Linked DNA regions of Homo sapiens: region 1 is linked to region 2. Evidence: promoter capture Hi-C in 16 types of primary human blood cells and fetal thymus (Javierre and others, 2016). All regions are on one chromosome and are shown on one strand. Each heading gives the region's core, a stretch centred on a gene start or on the middle of the fragment in contact. The rest is flanking DNA. Distances are from core to core; before and after follow the strand shown.

Region 1 (6,719 bases), core at 3,151-5,650, 570 kb before region 2:
TGCACTCAGGCGTTTCAGGGGCACCTGTTATCTCCAACTTCCTCATTTTAGGAATGGAGAAATTGAGAACAGATACAGGAAGCAACTTGTTGGTCAGCCAGGCAATGGCAGAGACCACACAAAAACTCCGCTTCCCAGCGTTCCTTCCACTTGAACTTTCAGTAACTTCCTTTCTTTCTTCCTTCGTTCATTCATTCCTTCACTCATTCATGCCTTCCACCTCCAATTACATGCTTTGGGCTGCAATGGAGGACCAGGCGTTTGGGGACAGCCTCACCCTTCTTCCCCATGTGGGGCTTTCTCAAGGCCAGAGGTCTAGGATTCAGGATTGTGGAAGCATCTGCTAGATCTCTTCCAGCTCACCCCTGGGTCTCCAATTCCAGCCCAGATAGGAGTCTGATGTAGGCTGCAGGCGGGCCCCACTCCCCAGCTCCTTCTGGTCTTCTTTTCCTCTTTCTTGGCACCTGGGGCTCTCTGTCCCATTCCTCACTGCCAATGTCTTGCTCTTGGGAGAGATGCAAGGGCTGGAGGCTGTTACTGTTCCATTTCCCAAAGGGATGAATGATCAAATTAAAGGCCCTTCCCAGCAATGGCTTTGCGCTGAAGGAGCCAGGACTAGGTCCAGACCAGGGTTCGCAAGTTAGCATCTTGAGCTGGATAATTCCTTGCTGTAGGGCTGTCCTGTGCATTGCAGAATGGTTAGCAGCATTCCTGGCCTCTCCCTAGCAGATGTCAGTAGAATTCCTCCACCAGGTTGTGACAACCAAAAATGTCTCCAGATATTGCCAAGTGTCCCCTCTGGGTGGTGTTGCCAGATAAGACAGAGAATGCCTGGTTACATTCTTTTTTTTCTTTTTCTTTTTTCTTTTTTTTTTTTTTTTGAGACAGAGTCTCACTCTGGAGCCCAAGCTGGAGTGCAGTAAGGCGATCTCGGCTCCCTGCAACCTCCGCCTCTGTGGCTCAAGCATTTCTCATGCCTCAGCCTCCTGAGTAGCTGGGACTACAACTACGCACCACCACACCCAGCTAATTTTTTGTATTTTAGTAGAGATGAGGTTTCACCATGTTGCCCAGGGTGGTCTTGAACTCTTGATCTCAGGCAGTCCATCTGCCTCTGCCTCCCAAAGTGCTGGGATAACAGGCGTGAGCCACCACGCTAGGCTGAGCATTCTAATCGCACATAAGCAACAAGTAATTTTTAGTGCCTGAATGTCTCAACTATTGTTGCATTACCTCACATACTTATTTTTGTGGTGAGAACACTTAAAATCTACTCTCCATCATCTTCAAGAATATAATTCATTGGGCCAGGTGGGGTGGCTCATGCCTGTAACATTTTTTACTTGAAGAATCTTGCAACTCTACCTCAGGGGCAAAATCTTTCTTCATTGGCCCAGATCAGGGTCTGGGGTGTGGGGAGCAGTTAGTGAGAGGATCTGATGAGATAATCATAGGCCATGAGTTTACAAGGGCAAAAACTTTGCCATAATCATCTCTGTATCCTTAGAATATAATGGCGTCTCATTAAATATTTTATCTGAGAGTGGGTGTGAGGACACTTGGAACTATATCAGATACCATACCTGAGTACATCCAGCCCAGGACTGGACATTAGGGACATACTCCCTAATAAATATAAACTGAAGATAATGTTTAGTTTGACTCACATAGCATTTTTTAAAGGTGTGACTTTGGGCTTTACATTCTAAAATTGGCAACTGGCTGAGCATGGTGGCTCATGCCTGTAATCCCAACACTTTTGGAGACTGAGGCGGGAGGATTTGCTTGAGCCCAGGAGTTCAAAACCAAGCTAGGCAACATAGTGAGACCCCCATCTATACAAAAAAATTAAAAAAAAAAAATAGCCAGGTGTGGTGGCACATGCCTGTTCTGCCGGCTACCTGGAAGGCTGAGATGGGAGGATCACTGGAACCCAGGAATTTGAGGCTGCAGTGAACTATGATCGTGCCGCTGTACTCCAGCCTGGGCAACAGAGCGAGACCCTGCCTCAAAAAATTAAAATAAAATAAAATAAAGTAAAATAAAATAAACAGGAAGTGGCTGGGCGTGGTGACTCACCCTGTAATCCTAGCACTTTAGGAGGCCAAGGTGGGTGGATCACTTGAGGTCAGGAGTTCAAGACCAGCATGGTCAACATGGCAAAACCCTGTCTCTACTAAAACTACAAATTAGCTGGAGGTGGTTGTGTGCACCTGTAGTCCCAGCTACTCAGGAGGCTGAGGCAGGAGAGTTGCTTGAACCCAGGAGGCAGAGGTTGCAGTGAACCGAGATTGCGCCATTGCACTCCAGCCTGGGCAATAGAGCGAGACTTGGTCTCAAAACAAAAACAAACAAACAAAAAACAAAACACACACACACACACACACACAGGAAGCTATCACATAAGTCAAGATTTCTGGTATCTCTTGAAAAATACAGCACAACTTCCAAATGCTTGGAATATCTGACAATTTGCCTATACTCCCAAGCAGAAAAGCTTGGCTGGAACTAAGAGGTACCTGCCCCTCTCTACTGGCCCAGATCAGGGTCTGGGGTGTGGGGCAGATACCTCTCAGCTGGGCCAGTAGAGAGGGTCAGGTACCTCTCAGCTCCAGCCAAGCTTTTCCACTTGGGTCCTGTGTTCCCCCTATTACCCACAGTCCCTACCACTCCCTATTGCCCCACACCAGGATCCATCACCCATTATGTTAATCTGCCTGTAGGCATTTGCATTTCAAAGCTCTGGCCTAGTGGTGAAGAGGCATTGGAATGGCATGTCCTTTTAGGTGATCTACTGTAATGTTGGTGCATTATCCCCATTTTACAGATAAAGAAACTTGCCTTTGGGGAAGTTAAGTGAATCAACATTTTAACGAGGCTGTATTAGAACCCAAGTCCCTTGACTCCAGGGTCTAGGCCCATGCCCCACCCTGGCCAGAGTTCGTTGTAAGAGATAACTCAACCGCAGGGGCAAGAGCATTGTGGCACCAGGGACCTGGAGGGGAAGTGGTAACAGGCACGGAAGGCCAGACCTCCTCACACTCACTCATCTGTGAGAAAGTACAAAAGCAAGAGAAAGCTGGCTTGGGGTGGCACTCAACAGGTGCTCTGAGTGGCACCCACGGCCAGGTCCTGGGAGAGGACAGAAAACAACTGGGACTCCTCAGCCCCCGGCAGCTCCCAGTGCCCAGCCACCCACAACACAACCGTGAGTAGCTTTTTTTGTTGTTTATTTTAGGCTTCTTCCTCATTCCCCAACACCTGTATTCTTTTTTGTTTGTTTGTTTGTTTTTGAGACGGAGTTTTGCTCTGTTGACCAGGCTAAAGTACAGTGGCACAATCTCGGCTCAGTGCAGCCTCACAGGTTCAAGCGATTCTCCTGCCTCAGCCTCCCGTGTAGTTGGGATTACAGGTGTGCACTACTGCGTCTGGCTAATTTTTGTATTTTTAGTAGAGACAGGGTTTCACCATGTTGGCCAGGCTGGTCTCGAACTCCCGACTTCAGGTGATCTGCCCACCTTGGCCTCCCAAAGTGCTGGGATTACAGGCATGAGCCACTGCACCTGGCCAAAACCTGTATTCTTACCTTATCCCTTCCCTCCAGGGACACAAGAAGCCAGGTGGGCCTGTCTGGGGCAGGGGATAGATGTCATTTCAGGACACCTGGGGTTGTGGAGGACCAGTCGCAGGAAAGTTCAGGGCTGGCATCCCCCTCCTAGGACCAAGAATCAGGACTTTGGCTTTCATTTCATTACAGAGACAAGAATCACACACACAGAGATGGCCTTACTGTGTGCCAGGCGCTGCCCTAAGAGCCTTTAGTGGTTGGATTTATTTAATCCTCACAACAGCCGTATGCAGTAGGAGCTATCACTGTTGTCCACTTGATAGGTGGGGGCTAGGTGACCCACCTGAAATCATGCGGGCATTGAATGAGAGCATTGGCTTGAGCCTAGGCACTCCGGCTTCGCGGCCCACCCTTCAGCCACCAGGCTATCCTGCCTTACGAGGTGTGGACTGCAACAGTAGATGGGGGCCAGGAAATGACAGGGGCTGGCAGAGGCCTTTGAGATGACCAGGTGAGTCCTGCGCTCTCATTTTATAGATGGGGAGACCACAAGGTAGTGTTAGGGGCACACTGGACTCAGGAGGCCAGGGGTCTGCTTTGGTGTAAGTTCCACTCAGCGGAGGGAAGAGCAGTATTTTCCAGTGTGCCCTGGGGTCAGCGTCCAGGTCTGAATCCCAGCTCTGCCACTGGTAGCTCGATGGCCTAATGCAAATCACTCCATTTCTTTCCTGCTCAGCTTCCTCTTCTGAGAAACATGGGCCTGAGAAGGTCACTCACAGGCTTGTTGCGAGTCAACTGTCTGATGCGGGCACAGGGCGGGCAGCAGCACAGGGCTCGGGAATGGCTGTGGTGGAGAGTTTGATCTTCACCCCATCTGCTCTTGCTGTGGATCTGAGATGAGGATAAAATGAGGCCTGGCTGCTTTTCCCTGGAATGAGTGGCAAGTAGACACGTTGGCAGCATGAAAACCAGGATGGAGGCTGGGGAGAAGTTCAGGGAGAGCTCAGGAGGTGGAGTCCCAATAATCCTGGCCCCAGCTCTGTAACCACCTTGTGGCTTACCAGAGTGACCCCCTAACCTGCGCTGGGCAGGTGAAGCATATCCTTTACCCTTTGGCCGGCTAAGGCCAGGATAAGGCAGTGAAGACGGGAAAATGGCAGCCTGGCTCAGCCAAGCAGAGCCCTCCAGCGCCAGCCCCCTCTCTTCCCACCTCATTTTACAGTACCAGTCACTCTTACTGCACACCCTCGGGTGTGCATAAATTGATCTTTTCTTTATTCAGTTGAAGTCACATTCAATAGGACCCTGAGCCTCATCCTACTGGGCTAGGAGGAAATTTAATCTCCAAGTGCACTGAGCTTCCCTCACTCCCATCCCCACCCATGCACATTGACCCAGAGGACACACAGAACATAAGCGTGAGGGAGGCTCCTGGGTCCTCCTACGATGGATGCCCATTGCCCAAATGGACTTGATTGTCTGAAGTCCAGCCTTGCCCACTTCCCTGGCATGCCTGGAGTCCAGATTCTTTGTAAGACCTGAAACCACTGTGTCTCATTTTGACATCCAGGATATATCACCCAGTGACTTCCCCCAGAGGTCCTGCCATCTTCCCAGAAAGCAAATTCTAGGTGCCCAAGACCTCGGTCCCCTCCCAGCCAAGGACAATCTCTCCTCTCCCCTTGGCTGTGGATGGCAGATGGACACTCTTCTCTCCCCACCCCCCACCCACGTGACCTAACCTTCTCACTGCGCTCAGGTTCTCAGGAAAGGACAGGAAGAAGGGTTGTCTTCAAATAGCTTCTGCTTCCTACTCTCACCCCTGAAAAAAGTCCCCGAGCCACGAGACACAAAGGGCACTCTGAAAAGAGACAGGCAGCCCTATCTTACAGATGAGAAAAACCAAGACTCAGCAGCAGTGTTGACTTGCTCAGTGTCACACAGCCAAGGAATAGCGGAGCCAGTGTGAGCAGAGAGTCCTGCGCTGTGGGTTCAGAGCTTGTGCTATCAATCACATGGAATCACATGGAAACCCAAGTCTCCCTCATCAATTACTCAGGCAACCTGGGGCAAGTTACATCACCTTTCTGAACCTCAGTTTCTTCAACTCTAAAAATGACGCTATCATAGCATTCCCAACCTGCCTCAAAGGGGCTCTTGTTTTTTGTTTTTTGTTTTTTTGTTTTGTTTTCTTTTCTTTTCTTTCTTTTTTTTTTTTTTTTTTTTTTTTTGAGACAGCGTTTTGCTCTTGTTGCCCAGGCTGGAGTATAATGGCGTAATCTCAGCTCATTGCAACCTCTGCCTCCTGGGTTCAAGCGATTCTCCTGCCTCAGCCTCCCAAGTAGCTGGGATGACAGGCATGCACCACCACGCCCGGCTAATTTTGTATTTTTAGTAGGGATGGGGTTTCTGCATGTTGGCCAGGCTGGTCTCGAGCTCCCGATCTCAGGTGATCCGCTCTTGTTTTTTTCTTAAGCGAAGATTGATGAAGCATTTACTACACATTTGAGCTCTGTGACCGTTCCTCATTAAGTCCTCACCACAGCCTAGGAGGGGGCTGCTATCACTAACCACATTTGCAAGGTGAGAAACTGAAGCTCACACAAGCTTAAGACTTATCCAAGGGGCCGGGCATGGTGGCTCATACCTGTAAGCTTGGCACTTTGGGAGGCCCAGGCAGGAGGATAGCTTGAGCTCAGCACTTCAAGACCAGTCTAGGAAACATAGTGAGACCCTATCTCTACAAAAAAAAAAAAAAAAAAATTAAAAATTAGCCAGGCATGGTGGCACATGCCTGTGGTCCCAGCTACTCAGGGGGCTGAGGTGGAAGGATTGTTTAAGCCTGGGAGATTGAGGCTGCAGTGAGCTATTATTGCCTGGGTAACTGAGCAAGATACTGTTTCAAAAAAAAAAAAAAGAAGGAGAGAGACTTGTCCACAGTCCCATAACTGGTGGTAATGGCAAAGCTGAGACTCAAGTCCAGGTCAATCTGGATCCAGAACCAAGCCATATTGTGGTGGGAATCAAAATAGGAGAACGGGAGTGGAAATGCCTCTAGGTATGGAGATGCAGGGCAGGCTCGGGGACTCATGATCAGGGTTGTCTTTACTGTGTCGCTCGCCAGGCTGCGTTTCAGATGCCATCACATGGA
Region 2 (7,463 bases), core at 304-2,803:
CTAAGACTCCCAGCATTTCTGTAAATCTCACACCCCATAACACAAAACTTGGATCTACCCAGAGATTTAACTTGGTACTGGGCACATAGTAGTCGTTTTCAATATTTCTTTTTCTTTTTTTTTTTTTTTAAGACGGAGTTTCGCTGTTGTTCCCTAGGGTGGAGTGCAGTGGTGCGATATTGGCTCACTGCAACCTCCGCCTCCCGGGTTCAAGCGATTTTTCTGCCTCAGCCTCCGGAGTAGGTGGGTTTACAGGCACGTGCCACCACACCGGGCTAATTTTTGTATTTTTAGTAGAGGCAGGGTTTCACCATGTTGATCAGGCTGGTCTCGAACTTCTGACCGATACACCCGCCTCGGCCTCCCAAAGTGCTGGGATTACAGGCATGAGCTACCACGCCCCGCCCGTTTTCAATAATTAAATATAGGTTTGTAGGTTCTGAGAAATTTAATCATCCTTGAGTGCATCTGGAAATCTGCAGACCACTGCTTGACTTCCTCCACTTCCTAAGGGTGGGGCATTGGAGTTTGGGGTTGGGAAAAAAGCGCTTGCACCACAGAAGTGAGTTCGGAAGGTTTCTATGAGACGAGACAGGTTTGGACTAAGGACAGGGAACAAATCAGTAGGAATGGCAGGTGAGAAATAGGTTTAGGACTAACACGAATTATAGTGTCCTTTGGGAATTACCCCTTTCCCCTGCATGGCTCTTTTGGCTTCAGAGATGTATATAGCTGCTTTATTTTATGAATATCAAGTAGCTCCAAACCCTGTGGGGAAAAGCTCCCTGCTCTATCACTTGTGTTACACATTGCTTTTGAGTCATTTTAACGATTTCCCTCACAGTCTGCCACCAACGATGTGTGGACGGCAGCCAGGGAGGGAAAGAGGCATTTCTCCGATCGTTCCAAGGAATGATTATCTAGACAAAATCCTCAGCAAAATGACGAGCCAAATCATCCTTAAATCGTGTGCTCACTAGAGGCGAAAAGATGACCGAAAGAGGCCCGAACGCGTGGCTATGGGCGTGTCTGGGGGGAACGCCGGCCGCGGGGGTGCGAGGGAGGACTCGGGGGCTAAGGGCGGCCGGTGGCGGGACGCAAGCGCCATGGCGGAGCTGGGCCAGTGCTGACCATAGGGGGCGGGGCTCCGGAGGCGGCCACGCGGCGCGAGGCCTAGATTTTCGGCCTCGCATCGGCGGCAGACGAAGAGGGAGGAGCTTCGTCCACCCAGGACCCAGCGCCCCCAAGCCTTGCAGCCACCAAGGGCTTCCACCACAGACCCCTTTGTGTGCCTGCCCCCGCCCCGGAGGCGCCCCAGCCAGGGGCGCTGAGCACCCTCATTGGTTCAGCCGGCAGCTTCATCGATTGGCTCTCGAGTCGTCCGGCGTGGTCCGTTTTGCCTGGATACTACTGGTCGTCTGAGCTGCCTGTCAGGCCGCCTCGCCAAGCGATTGCCCCGTAGCTCGGAGTCCCTGGAAGCAGTTCCGGGAAACCCCGCGTGCTGCCGGGATCGCGTCTCAGTCCATCAGGGGGGGGAGGGGGTGGCGCGCGCGCCATTTCTAGTCGTTTTCAAAGCGCCTCGCGCTGATTCTCACGGGCCCGGCTGCCGGCCCCCGCTCTGCCCTGGTGAGTCTCGCGCCGGCCCGTGGGGGGAGGGGCCGGGAGCCCCGATGCGACCCGACTCAGCCCGGGCTCCGTGCCTGGTCCCGTTTCGTTTGCGCTCCGAGGCCCCGGGGTGGGGGTGGGGACGGGCTGGGGGCGGCTTCGGTCTAGTCCGCCCGCGCGGCTGTGGGCCTAGCCCGGCCGAAACGCTTCTCGCCCTCGCTCTTCCTCCCCCCGCCCCTTTAGCCCGCGGTCCGGCCCGCTGGGCGCTCTCCGCGCGGCCTGCTGGGGCCGGCCGTGCTTTTCCCGCCTCCGCTCGCTGCTCCATGCGGCCGGATCCCGCGAAGGGCCTGAGGCGCCCGCGGCCCTGCCGCTTCTCCCCGCCGGAGCCGCTTCGCTCCCGCCGCGGCCGGCCTAGCCCGAGAGGGATGTGCTGATGATCCGGACGGGCCTGAGGGGATGGGGGTGGGGGGCGGAAGGCGGGGTGCAGATCCCAGGGTTATCTGAGCCGGGAGAAAAGTTTTGTGTGAGCAGAAACCGAAAGGCCGATTTGTGTGGGAAGCCTCCCTCCCCTCCCACATTCTGCATGCCGCGGGCTGAGATTTGAAGGAAAAAATGACTACTAGAGGCCGTAGAACTTAGGCTCCAAGCGGCGCCTGAAATGGATAATTCTGAGACTGTCAGAGGCGCACCAAATTGGAAAGGCGATCCTTTTTCTTACACGGTAGTGGCCGTATTGCCAAATTTTTAAAAAAGCCCAGGGCTTCTTGGAAGGTTCAGTCCTTTCACACTACCTGTTTGAGATTTTTGCAGTCCTCAAGTGGCTGAATTGATGTCTCATGAGTCAGTCGTAGGATGAGAGCTCGACACTCCTAAGCCATGAGATAACCGTTAGTCTCATTTCGTTGGTTCTTTTAAAGCCCGTCTCTTAATATGAAGAATTTGCACAGAGAGGTTCAGAAAAAGTCAGGGAGGAGTTAGTGCTGACATCCCGAATCTCCCAGCAGCCCTTTTAAATCTTTAAATGTCTCCTTTTTTTTTGCAAAAATGTTTAGATCAAATGACTCCAGTCACGTTAGTATATTTGCTGCATCCAGAAATATGGTTTGGCTGTGTGGCATTGTGTTGAATGCCACATTTGAATGAGTTTCAAATGGTCTCATATGACATAAAAAGTCTTTTCAAAATGAGCATTTTGTATTTGGCTTGAAGAGAGAGGGCTTTCCTTGATCCGAAGGTTTTATTTTCTGGAATCTAATTATTTTACGGTTTTTTTGTTAAAATTTACAAACTTTTTTTGAAAATTTTAACCAATTTCAGTATCAACTTGTAGAGCCTTTGCAATGAAATGGTAGGCATAAATATTTCTGTCTTGTACTTAATACACAACTTGTCTTTTTGCTTTACACATACTTAAAAACCCCACCTTAACAGATGTTCATTGAACTTTTCTGTTAAAAATTTGCCTCTTTTCTGTGACTGATAGTATTCCTAGGTACAATGCTGTAAGGGTCTTGTGATACTGAGAACTTTTGAGTTCTGATGATCTTAAGGTAGTATGTGGGGATGGGGGAGCATGGGAAAACAGAACCTTATGTTCGCAAGGAGATTTTGTGTTTTAGGATGCATCTTTATAGAAATAGGTCGTGTTAATCAGTAAACGTATTCATCTCACACAATACAGTTTCTTGATCAAAAGTGTGACATTTCGAATGTTTCCGTTTTTGCTAGTTCATCAGAATTTGAAGCTTGTCTTGAGAAACATCCACCCAGAATTTAACCACAGTCTGCGTCTATTAAGGGCTATCGAGTCTTAATAGTGTTTTGTAATTGTGAGGAGTCATGTTTATCTCATTTTCAGAGTAATCCTTTGCATTTTCTTCTTCTTCCTACTCTCTATTACCTCCTTCCCCTCTTGGTCTTCCTCCCTCTTTCGTTAACTTCAACTAAGTATCAGTGGACTTTGAAATGAAAAGAAGTTGTTTTAAGCCAGAAAACTGCACCTGGTGCATTTGCACAATGTTCGATAAGCTGTCGGGAAGTGTGGTTATCTTATGTGTCTTAGTACTTTGTAGGAGACTTGTATTTTCTTTATAGATGACTAGGTATCTTGAGTTTCATCAAGAAAAGTAGGCTTTTTCTTGAGATCCACCTTTATGTCTTTTATTTAGTATGTGTTGCAATGTCTTGTTCTGCTGCCTATTATCTTCATCACATTGTAATTTCACCACAGACAAATGCACTTTAATTCCCTGTCTTTTGAGGCAGTACACAGACTGGCCTTGTATGGTTTATTGTTTACTCTCTCTCTTCAGGGAGTCAGTCCATTTCAGCATTACCTACAGGCTGAATGTACAAAATTATTTTTGATAGGTTAATCTGAGAAATCTGGCTGAAGTTTAGCCTAATTAGGTAACGGTTTTTGAAATATTTGGAAGAAGTTGTCCATTCTTCAGTATGTTTTTACATCTTTATTTTACTGATATGAAAATTTCAACATGTACTCTTTTTTTTTAAGAAGCAACCTAAACTATAGCTCACTTAGTATTTTATTTGGACTGAAAACAATTGTTTCGCTTTTAAACTTGGTCATTTTTTCTTTTAAATCTGTGGGAATAGCGAATTAATCTTAGAACAAAAATTAATGTCAAGTTGGTTTTTTTTTGTTTTCGTTTTGTATTGTTAGGTGGAGAAAACCCAAACCACCAGCATGTTGAACTAGAGAAAACAGGGCACTTATTTCACACCGATACTGTATTTGAAGCAGAGCCAGGAAAATTTGAAAGTCCTTAAATCTTGATTAAGTGGTCTGTGGGTGTTCATTCTGTTTTTAAAACAAAACTTTTTAAAACTGTGTAAGACCCGAGAGCTGAGGGGCTTTTTAGTAAAGGATTTTGTAGTGATTTTGATCTTTTCACCAGGACAGAACAGCTGCTTTTGTTAATCAGCAATTCTACCTTCAGTAAATTAAAGCCTTTATCTTACCCGGTGTACATGAAGTTCCTTAAAGATCTAATGCTTCCATGTACATTTTCTATGGTTTTACAGGATTATTATTGCCAATTTAGGTCAGATACATCACAGGAGGAATAAATTATTATTTTGATAGAGGTTATTAGCAGCATGTATACAAATTAGTTTAGATAAATCATGCATTGTCCTACAAACTAGTTATTTCTGGCTTAATGTAATATAGCTCCTGAATTTTTTCCAGCAGCATAATAAAATGGCTAATCAGGTGAATGGTAATGCGGTACAGTTAAAAGAAGAGGAAGAACCAATGGATACTTCCAGTGTAACTCACACAGAACACTACAAGACACTGATAGAGGCAGGCCTCCCACAGAAGGTGGCAGAAAGACTTGATGAAATATTTCAGACAGGTATAATATGCATTTCTTGTTTCTGACTGGTTATGAAAGTGAGGGCAAACCACTTTGAATTTTATAGTTTTTTAAGGTTAAATAATACTTATTGTTTCTGATCTGTAGAGCTGAATGTTTGTTACTTTCCCTTCATTGAAGGCATATTGGGTTTGACTTTGATACTCTTATTTCATTATTTTGAAGCCTTCTTAGTGTTGAATATGCAGTCTTAGTTGTTTCAGAACAGCACATCGATTTGTCTTAGATTTACCACCCATAAAAATGTATGTTTCTGCATACCAAATTTTACATTTTTTTCTTAATCAAAATCAGTCATCATTTTGCTTTTGCTTTTCTACTTTTACCTTCTTAAAGTGATTGTTAAATCAGCTTAGGTCTGATTAGGTGGCATAACAAGAGGATAGCTGTATCGTCTGAAACCATAATAAATGTCAGACTCCTTGAGAGTTTGTGGCTTGTCTAGTTTCTAATAGAAATCCACATCTCTCCGTAATTTGGAAGTGTTTGGTTGTAACAGCTGCTTCTTTTTTTTTTTTTTAATCCAGAAGTGCCATGGTTAAGTGCTTAAGCAAATTTGAACATCTTAATATAGTTGGTTGTAAGTGGTTTGAAGTTTTAAAGAGGGAGAGAAATATTTACCCTTAGGGAGCGTTGTTCATAAATGAATGTGTCCTCCTCCTTTGGGGACATAGATGGAAACTTTCTTCCTCTGTGTTGTGTGTGCCTATTCAGATTCTGAGAGAGAATTGAATTGTCTCACTCACAAATGTGTCTTAAGTACAGTAGTAGCAAATAGCTGTTTTTTTTTTTTTGTCCTTAAAAAATTTTTAAATCTGGGAAGCTTAGCATAATTTTAGACATTAAAATGACTTATAAAAATGACTCCTGGGTCATGGTCGCATTTGAAAATCAGTCCTCAGGAACTTTCTGTGACATTCTGCCATAGAGAATTGGCAGTGATCTGCTTAGAGATGCTCTCTTGTAGAGTGTTTTGTTATTGATAAGAGGCTGATGGTTTGGGCGTAGACTTGGTTTGACAAAATGGATTGATGGGTGTCCTGAGTTGTGGCTTCGGGTGGTGGTATGGAATATTCAAGTGAGGCAGCTCCAGTTATTTACACATGCTCATTTCGAGCTTTTGAAACAAATCATGGCAACTTTTTTAAAAAGTAACTTTGGAAGTGGCATTACATTTATTTAAAATTTACTATATGGAATAAAGTTCTTTTTAGCTTTATCAAAATGGAGTCACTTTTCATGTTCATATGAACTTGGGGGTTTTAATCTACGAAATACTTGCATTTTACGTTGGATCAATTCTGAAATATATTCCATATGTAAATATGACACAAACTTAACAGACTTAAGAAATTATATTTTAAACTTAGTAGATGTTCTGTGTGCAGTTGAATATACTTACATATATGAAATGCAGTGTATATATTTTCTGTCAAGTTTACTTGTAAGACCATAAAGTCTTTATTGCCATTTGAAAATGATTGTCGTTCTTGACAGTCAATGTGAATGCCACAGCATCTTTTAAATCTCAGCTTGTCACTTCAGAAGAACAAAGAATGCCTTAAAGTATGACTTTCAGAATTGATTAATCAAGCTGCACTTGCATTTGTAGAAGTTTAAAATTATGCCTTTCCACATTCTGACTGCAGCAAAGTGGATGCTCAGATAAACAAATGCATTTCAGTTTATCTTTGGTGTTCAGGAGGGAAAGCCTTTTGACACTTTTTGGAGAGTGGAAAGAATTACTTAGTAAAATTTGTTTTCAGATTTTCCTCCACCTCTTAGGTGGTTAGCATCAACTGTAACCGTCTGTAATTTGAAGGTTTATCCTTGGAAAACGCAATGTATTCTTATCACTCTAATATAAACCAAAATTTGTTGTATTAATGCATAATCTGTAATACAGTATGTACATCAGATTTAACTTTCAAGACTTATACCTTTGGGGGAGTGGGAAATGGATGTTAGGATTTGGCGGGGGAGGTTTGTGGATATGGAGATTGAAATTCATGTTTTTGGTTGTTGACATTTTATCTTTATTTTCATATTTGTCCTGGACCTTTCTATGTAGTATTTGGATAGCTGCGTATATGCATATAGTTAAATGAAAATACAGTTTGTTAGTGATCATATTGAATGTAACAATTCTTGATTAAACGTCAGTAGAGCTTAGATTACCCCTTTTGTTGCAATAACGTTACCCCTTTCAATTTAATTTTTAGGATTGGTAGCTTATGTCGATCTTGATGAAAGAGCAATTGATGCTCTCAGGGAATTTAATGAAGAAGGAGCTCTGTCTGTACTACAGCAGTTCAAGGAAAGTGACTTATCACATGTTCAGGTAAGGTCGTTACTCAGAAATGTCTTTGAACAATTAGTAATCTGAAATTATTTTACTATTACTTTTTTTCCTATGGAGAAGTGGTATTTTTTGTTTGTGACTACCTCTTCTTTTAA

The links. The method cuts DNA at HindIII sites, captures the fragments that hold promoters and counts their contacts. A CHiCAGO score of 5 or more calls a contact.
Region 1: a fragment that was not itself captured here is called in contact with the fragment with the promoter of HNRNPR in region 2 in 1 of 17 cell types (neutrophils); the score reaches 6.2 in neutrophils.

What each region holds. Positions count from the first base shown.
Region 1 is chr1:23,909,735-23,916,453 of GRCh38, reverse strand. It overlaps CNR2 (cannabinoid receptor 2), which reads left to right and starts at 3,092. Exons shown (of 2, transcript NM_001841.3): 1 at 3,092-3,208. RefSeq lists enhancers at 2,766-3,280, 4,054-4,223 and a silencer at 6,194-6,243. The HindIII fragment of the contact is 3,555 bases long and covers 2,623-6,177 here.
Region 2 is chr1:23,338,374-23,345,836 of GRCh38, reverse strand. It overlaps HNRNPR (heterogeneous nuclear ribonucleoprotein R), which reads left to right and starts at 1,553. Exons shown (of 11, transcript NM_005826.5): 1 at 1,553-1,626; 2 at 4,820-4,985; 3 at 7,229-7,347. The coding sequence starts at 4,829. RefSeq lists silencers at 1,011-1,130, 1,641-2,000, 2,011-2,080 and an enhancer at 1,036-1,620. The HindIII fragment of the contact is 3,804 bases long and covers 1-3,352 here.